Linked DNA regions of Homo sapiens: region 1 is linked to region 2. The links are contacts of gene promoters, found by promoter capture Hi-C in blood cells and fetal thymus (Javierre and others, 2016). All regions are on one chromosome and are shown on one strand. Each heading gives the region's core, a stretch centred on a gene start or on the middle of the fragment in contact. The rest is flanking DNA. Distances are from core to core; before and after follow the strand shown. Region 1 holds the start of PPP1R8 (protein phosphatase 1 regulatory subunit 8). Region 2 holds the start of ZDHHC18 (zDHHC palmitoyltransferase 18).

Region 1 (3,654 bases), core at 1,028-3,527, 1.0 Mb before region 2:
CACAGGACCCATGACCTATTAAAACCCTTCATTTGAGAGAAGTCACAAAAAATTGAGTGTCTGTGGTAGACATAAGCTTTAAATGTGTGATGTCACCATGTGCTTTTAACAGAAAAAAAAAATCAGGATGAAAGAAAGTAGCATTGCTGGAAAACAAAGCACAGGAGAGGGGGTGGAAAAGTGAGTCACTGGCAAAAATCTTTAGTGTGGCAGCCAAAAAAGTAAGACATGTATTTCCATACCTCAATTAGTTTGTCTCCTTTGACTACATCCAGATGTAAACCGGGAGGGGGCTTACCTGCCCTGAAAAATAAAAATAGAAAAAAGCATTTTCAGGATGGGTTTATAAATGCTATTTACAACCATTGTCCCATTCAACATTGCAGCTCTCCTACCAGCCTATAATTAGTTCATGTTCAAGCAGAAATGTCATCCACTTCACTGTTATTACAGCTCCATTCTACGTTTGACACTTACTTCCCTAGTGATTCAATTGCTCTGCAACAGATTTTAGTAGATCTGTATTTAGAGCAGCACCAAGAAACCTATATTTTAACACTGGATCTTCACCTCAGAGAAAGAACTGCATAGAGAGTGCAAGTACGATAGCTGGGGTGGTCTAGTCACCTGGAGTTTGAATCTGAAATCCACCCCTACTCCAATATCATATAAAGACCGAATAAATTAGTTGCTGTTTGGGGCTCATCAAGATTAGTCTCATCACAGAGTAAGCAAAGAGTACTGTCCTGAGCTCTGAAACCAAATCAGAGGTGCATAATTAGGGAACTAGGGCAATTCAAAATCATGCCCCATGAAACCAGGTACCAAATGAATATGTTACCCTTGAAACAGGTCTTTCTACAACAGCATGATTAGGGGACGTTTCCTCTATATCCTACAGCCATACCATTCAAGGGAGACTCATATGTCAAAGCACCTAACGGTGCCTGGTACCTACCAGATCCTAAGGAAAGGGTAGGTGATCTCAAAAACAGTGCTTTCTAACTATGTTTGCTATCTCGGCCCAAATTTGAAATCAATACAGCGAGGGATCAAAATGGATACAGAATTTGTAGACTGAAGCAACTACTACAAAAGTGCAAAGCGATCCAGAAAATAGCCACACATTTGCTTGCTTTTTGGGTTTGCTAATTTGAAGTTAGAAAAAAGAACCACCTCACTAGAACCTTTAGATTTGCACATGAAAAAACGTATCCTTGTCTAGCTAACTGAAGATTCAACACAGTCATCTCACAATCCTGCCCCAACCCCTCCTCTATGGAAAGGACAATGCACCGGACAAAAGGCCATTTTGTCCAGGAAAAAGGAGGAATGTTACATCCAAAACATACTTTCTGAATTCCTACTATGTGCCTGACTCAGGCCTAGGAGCTGGGAATACAAAGATGCAGTCTTTGCCCTTGAGGATGGCAATACAACGGGAGACAGAGACAAGCAACAAACAATACACTGCGATGAGCTACAGCAGAAAAAAACTCTTAATTCAGAAGCGTTTCCTTGTAAGGTAATTCATATTTATTCAACTTGTACCCTACTCAAAGACCAAATTAAATTATTTCATTATTCCCAAGAACTTTCGAAGGGATAAAAAGGGTTCATGCCAACCATTACTAATGCCTACTAGTGCCACAGACTGGGAGCTCCCTGAGGGCAGGGATGGCGCTAACCTACCCTCGTATTCTCTGTGGCAGACAGACAAGTGCCGCACGAGGGATGCAGCAACCACAGAGGGATGCGGGGCTTGGAGGTAGGGTTGGGGCCGGGGCTGGCTCGAGCGCGCTCGGGACGTACAGGAAGGGGCCAGATGCGATGCTCCACGAGAGCACCAGGCACTCAGTCAAGAGTTGGGCGTAAGTTCGGGCCAAGGCCTCGAAGCGCTCCGGCGACTGGCTAATCGCTCAAAGGGGCTGCCTAAGTGAGCGCCTTTGAGCCCCCAACCCCGGGTTTCTTCAGTTCCTGGGCCTGGGCTCCAGGCTCTCGGTTCTTCAACACGTCGCCCGGCCCGGTGCAGCAAACAGTTTTTCCTCAACCATTCCGGGGTTTCTGAGCCGTTCGGCTCGCAGCAGAAAAGTAAAAAAAGAGCCGCCCTTCCAGCCCAGGCTAGCTCCGGCCGGGCCACTCTAGCCCTGGCCGCCCCGCCACTCACCAGGTTGGGCAGTCGAACAGCGGGAGGCTAGAGCCGGAGTTCGCGGCTGCCGCCATCTTGCGTCTCCCCCTCCCATTTGGCGCGCCCTAAGCACGCCGGGAAACTGGAAGACCGAGAAGGGAAAAGCGGCATCCCAGCAGCCTGTGCGTACGCACGCTCACGCACGCCCGTACGGGGGGCGGTGCTTCTAGTGGGGACAGAGGAGCTTTTGGGATTTTTTTTTTTTCAGCGTTTGTGCGAGTTGGCCGTCTCTGGAAGTCTCCAGTGGTTAGGGTTTTCCTTGGCCAGGAGGTGTCAAAGGAAAAGGGGCTTTGTAGGGAGGGGAGTCAGTCTTTCCCTACGTCCTCCTGCAAACGCTTCTTGGCTCTAAAATCTTGGGACTAAGCCGTGCGCGATGGCTCACGTCTGTAATCCCAGCACTTTCGGAGGCTGAGGCGGGCGGATCACTTGAGGTCGGGAGTTTGAGACCAGCCTGACCAACATGGTGAAACCCCGTCTCTACTAAAAATACAAAAATTAGTCGAGTGTAGTGGCACATGCCTGTAATCCCAGCTACTTGGGAGGCTAAGGCAGGAGAATCGCTTGCACTCGGGAGGCAGAGGTTGCAGTGAGCCGAGATCGCGCCATTGCACTCCAGCCTGGGCAACAGAGCGAGACTCCGTCTCAAAAAAAAAAAAAAAAAAAGTAAAGAAAGAAAAAATCTGGGGACTACATCCTCCTCCAGAGTTTAGGTTAAGACCGTCAGCCTTTTGCCCTCAAAGCGGAGAAGCTAAAGGGCAAAACTCGGAGATTGGAGTGATTATTGTTTCTCTTCAGCCCTTCTCCAAAAAGTGGCACCCTACTCACTTTTTTCTAATTCACGTTTAGGCCTGTAGATTGTCAGGGAATCTGCATTAGGGGTCACCTAGTCTGTTTATGAAAACTCTGGACAAGCAGGAGCCAGGAGCAGGTCCAGTCAGAAAGCAGGGGTCCAAATCATCACTGTGCTTGGCTCAAATGGTTAATTTTTTTAAAAAGGATTTTTTGCTTTTGGTTATAGGGCAAGGAAGCATAAGGATTGCTCGCTTGCCCTAGATCACCAGCTGGTTTTAAGAGACCATTAGCAGGGCCTCTGGTTTTTTATTTTTTATTTTTTTATTGATCATTCTTGGGTGTTTCTCGCAGAGGGGGATTTGGCAGGGTCATAGGACAATAGTGGAGGGAAGGTCAGCAGATAAACAAGTGAACAAAGGTCTCTGGTTTTCCTAGGCAGAGGACCCTGTGGCCTTCCGCAGTGTTTGTGTCCCTGGGTACTTGAGATTAGGGAGTGGTGATGACTCTTAATGAGCATGCTGCCTTCAAGCATCTGTTTAACAAAGCACATCTTGCACTGCCCTTTATCCATTTAACCCTGAGTGGAGAGAGCACAGGGTTGGGGGTAAGGTCATAGATCAACAGGATCCCAAGGCAGAAGAATTTTTCTTAGTACAGAACAAAATGAAAAGTCT
Region 2 (4,029 bases), core at 777-3,276:
CTCAAAAAAAAGGGCAGAGTGTGTGGTTAAAGGGTAAAGGGAGAAGCTAATTTATAGGAAGTCTTCACCTTGCTTCAAGGGGAAACCCAAAGTTGCAGATACATGATCTGGCAGCTAGAAAGGGTACCTGGGGGCGGGTGTCTCTATGATAGCCTTACCATGGCCACATGCCCTTGGGAAGTGTTTTTTGATAAAGACAACACAAGTACTAATAGCAGCCAACATAGTGTGCTTGTTACTGGGCTAAAAGCTTGCATGTGTGACCTCATGCCACCCTCAGGACAACCTTACGGGGTGGGTACTATTATAAATCCCATTTTACTGATGAGGAAACTGGGGCACTGAGGGGGTGAAGTGACTGCCCTGAGGTCACGCAATTAGTGGGTGGTGGAGCTGGGATTTGAACCAGGTCTGTTAGAGTTCTTAACTACACTGTATAATTAAGAGGAACAACCACAAAGGATGGGGAGTTGGGAGGGGACAGCAGGGCTTATGAAGCAAGGGTGGGTGGGTGGGCGTGTGAGTGTGTGTGCAAGGAATCACAGTGCAGGTGGCTCAGAGGTGGGTGGAAAACTTCTAATACAAATATATGACCCTCCATCCATAAAATGGAGATTATGTGTGGGCCAATCCTGGGTCACCGGGGGATATGAAGAGGACAAAAACCTAGGGGGGCAAATATGACCTGTCACACGAAAGCACTCCGAAGTCTTTCCTGAAAAACAACAAGGCACCGCAGCTGTTGCTGATGTGGAACAGGCCAGAGGGACGTTCCAGAATGTTGAGCAGGGAAAGAAAGCCAGGTGGTCAGCAGGGGGGCCAGGGGCCTGGGAGCCGGCTGGGTGGAGGCGGGCGGGATCTGAGGGAAGGACAGGAAGCTCTGGAGAACCTAAGGAAGGTTCTGGAGAAGGAAAGGGGGCCCGAGAGGCCCAAAGATTTTGAGAAAAGATGCCTTGGGGCCTAGGGTGTGCGTGGCTGAGGGGAAGCAAAAGCGGGGTTGGTGTCTGAGACTAGAGAAAAGGAGGGGACCCTGGAGGGACCCGGAGAGGGCAGCGAGGATGACTAGGATGTTTATGGTGGGTGTGCACAGCCAAAGGACACACAAGATCTAGAAGTGGTCAGGAAGGGATACAAGGGTCAGAAAGAACTTGGGGGGTTGGCAAGAGATGGTCCAGGGATGGGTGAGCAGGAGGGGCCTGTTCAAGAAGCCCTGGGGCAGGTTCTGAGAGGGCAGCGAGGATGGGGGCCGTGGAGGGGCATGGAGGCTGGTGTTCCTGGCAGTGGCAGGCAGACAGGTGCCAGGGTGGGGTCAGGGAGAATGGAGGGGCTGGGAGGGTGGAGGGCACCAGCGCGGATGGGGTACCCAAATGGACCAAGGAGGATGGGGCATCTGGCGGGGATGGGGGTGCGCAGGGGCCAGGGGGGCAGACAAGAGGCCCGAGGAGGATCCCAAAGGGGCGGGGAGGATGAGGACCAGGGAGGCGAAGGGGAAGGCACGGAGTGCCCAGCAGGGATTGGGAAGGTGGGGTGCGCGGCAGGGGGCTGGGAGGGGGCGCCGAGGCAGCGGAACTCACTCAAAGACGAAGAAGAGGCCGGTGGTGGTGAGGATGAGCAGCAGCGTGAGCGCGAAGACGCCGCCGTGGCCGGCCAGCATGAGGCGGCCGCCGCAGTAGAAGCGATTGCGACCCGGGAACACCTCCCACTTGCGCCGTGGGCGGCGGCCGAGGCTCCCGCTCCCGCTGCCGCTGCCGCTGCCGCTGCTGCTCCAGCGCGGCGGGGCGGGGGCGGCGGGCGGCGCGGGCCCGGGGCCCGGAGTCGGGGACGCGGCGGGGCCGGGACGGCGCGCCCCCGGGGAGGCGGGCAGCGGGGCGGCCCCGGGGCTGATCTGCTGGTACTCGCAGTCCTTCATGCAGCCAGCCGCGGGCCTCGGCTCCGCGCCCCGCGGGCCGGCCGGGCCACTCCGGGACCGGGCCGAGCAGCGGAGGTGGCAGCGGCGGCGCGCGCGGCGCTCGCTCGCTCACTCACTGGGGCGGCCCCGCCATCGCTCCGCCCCCGGCCCGCCGCCACCGCCCGCCGCGGCCTCCCGCCGCAGCGCCCCCTCCGCCTGGGCCCGGGATGGCGCTTGGCCGGAGGCCCAGCTCTGACCCGCGGCGGGGCCCCGCAGGTCCCCGGCCCTCCCAGTCTCCCTTTTCCCTTCTGCACAAAGAGGGGGCCAGCAGACGCGCACTCGAGGGCTCTTTCTGTTCTGCAAGCAAGCCGTTTGTTGGGCGTCCACTGTGTACCAGGCACGGTGCCAAACGCCGAGATTCAGGTGGTGGACTTCGTGATCTACTTCTGGCAGTCTGTAATTCCCCAGGCTTCGCCCATCTCTGAGGGTCGAACTGACAGGCATTTGCAGAGGCAGGCAGGCGCGGGGAGGTGGGGCACACGATTTGCTTTGAAAGCCAGGACCTCTTCTACCTTGAAGTCCAGAGTGCCCACTGGAGGTGTGTGGCACACCCTCTGGCCTCGTTCACCAAGTTCTGTGTCCTGGGCCCAGGCCCAGATTTTCCTAGGTAGCACATAATGTAGAGGGGTCATGCCTGAGGGCCCCAGTGTTTTTTCAGGAATTCTGGGAGTATTCATTTTCTACTGCTGTGTAACAAGTTACCACAAATTTAAGGCTTAAAACAAACATTATCGGCCGGGCGCGGTGTCTCACGCCTGTAATCCCAGCACTTTGGGAGGCCGAGGTGGGTGGATCACAAGGTCGAGAGAGACCATCCTGGCCAATATGGTGAAACCCCGTCTCTACTAAAAATAAAAAATTAGCTGGGCATGGTGGCACGGCATCTATAGTCCCAGCTACTCGGGAGGCTGAGGCAGGAGAATTGCTTGAACCCAGGAGGTGGAGGTTGCAGTGAGCCGAGATTGTGCCATTGCACCCGGCCTGGTGACAGAGCAAGACTCCGTCTCAAAAAAAACAAAAAACAAACGTTATCTAACAGGTTCCAGGTCAGGAGCCAGAGAACAGCTTAGCTGGGTCCTCTGCTTAGTCTCACAAGGCTGCAATCAGGCTGCATTCTCATCTGGAGACTCAGCCAGGGAAGAATCCACTTGCAAGCCCATTTGGGTTATTGGCAGAATTAACTTCCTTGCGACTGTTTAACTGAAGAGGGCCTGGGATTTTTGCTGGGTGACTGTATAACTGAGGAGGGCCTGGGATTTTTGCTGGGTGTCTGCTGGAGGCCTCTCTCAGGATCCAAAAGCCACCTGCAGTTCCTAGAGATTATCACATTTCCTTGCCATGCAGGTTTCTCCTACATAGCCACTTAGTTTCTTGAAACTGACAATGAGGGTCTCTAGCTCCAGACTATGATGATAGAGTTTTATATAACTTACTATATATGTGACAGAGTGGCATCCCATCATCATTGCCATCTCCTATGGTTAAAAGCAAAGCACAGGAGCCATCTGCACTCAAGAAAAGGGAATCACACAAGGCGTAAATACCAGGAGGCAGGAATCATTGGGGGTCAGCTTAGGGTATGTCTGTCACACTGTGGTTACTGTAAAACCTAAGGAAAAGTGCAAGGAAAAAAAGAACTGGAGACTAGGAGAAAGTAAAAAAGGAAGTAAAAATATACAATGGGGAGGAGTAGGAAGCCGACAACAGTGACCTTAAGGATCAATAATTGATATATATGCCAAAGGCTGCTCAGCCGTGCCTTTGGTGCCAAAGGCTCTCAATATGATGAGCCCCATCTTGAGCAAACCACATGGTGAGCTTCCTCCCTTTTTGCTCCTTGGCTGTGGAACAAAGTCACAAAACTAGACATACTGGTTCCAGTACAGATTCCTGTTGTCCCACCTTAACTGGGTCCTCTTGCAACCTGAAACCTTTTCTTTTTTCTCGTCACTTTACAGAAACCAAAGCAATCCTACTGGATTTTCAGTTTACCTCCTCTCTATCTCATAATTTCTCTTTATTTGCATCTGTCCTTTCTTCTTTTTTAGAAGATGTGGGCCTCCTTCTGTCCATGGCCAACC

The links. Contacts are between HindIII fragments. The CHiCAGO score rates a contact against its expected background, and 5 or more counts as called.
Region 1: a contact is called between the fragment with the promoter of PPP1R8 here and the fragment with the promoter of ZDHHC18 in region 2, in 4 of 17 cell types (monocytes, total B cells, naive B cells and 1 more). The highest score is 13.9, in monocytes.

Annotation. Positions count from the first base shown.
Region 1 is chr1:27,829,405-27,833,058 of GRCh38, reverse strand. It overlaps PPP1R8 (protein phosphatase 1 regulatory subunit 8), which reads right to left and starts at 2,277. Exons shown (of 7, transcript NM_014110.5): 1 at 2,168-2,277; 2 at 243-303. The coding sequence starts at 2,223. It overlaps LOC124903885 (a long non-coding RNA gene), which reads left to right and starts at 1,276. Exons shown (of 2, transcript XR_007065562.1): 1 at 1,276-2,310. RefSeq lists enhancers at 1,228-2,012, 1,970-2,139, 2,013-2,798 and a silencer at 2,270-2,349. The HindIII fragment of the contact is 9,216 bases long and covers 79-3,654 here.
Region 2 is chr1:26,824,685-26,828,713 of GRCh38, reverse strand. ZDHHC18 (zDHHC palmitoyltransferase 18) reads right to left here and starts at 2,026. Exons shown (of 8, transcript NM_032283.3): 1 at 1,575-2,026. The coding sequence starts at 1,909. RefSeq lists silencers at 1,759-1,968, 1,979-2,128, 2,092-2,244. The HindIII fragment of the contact is 7,154 bases long and covers 253-4,029 here.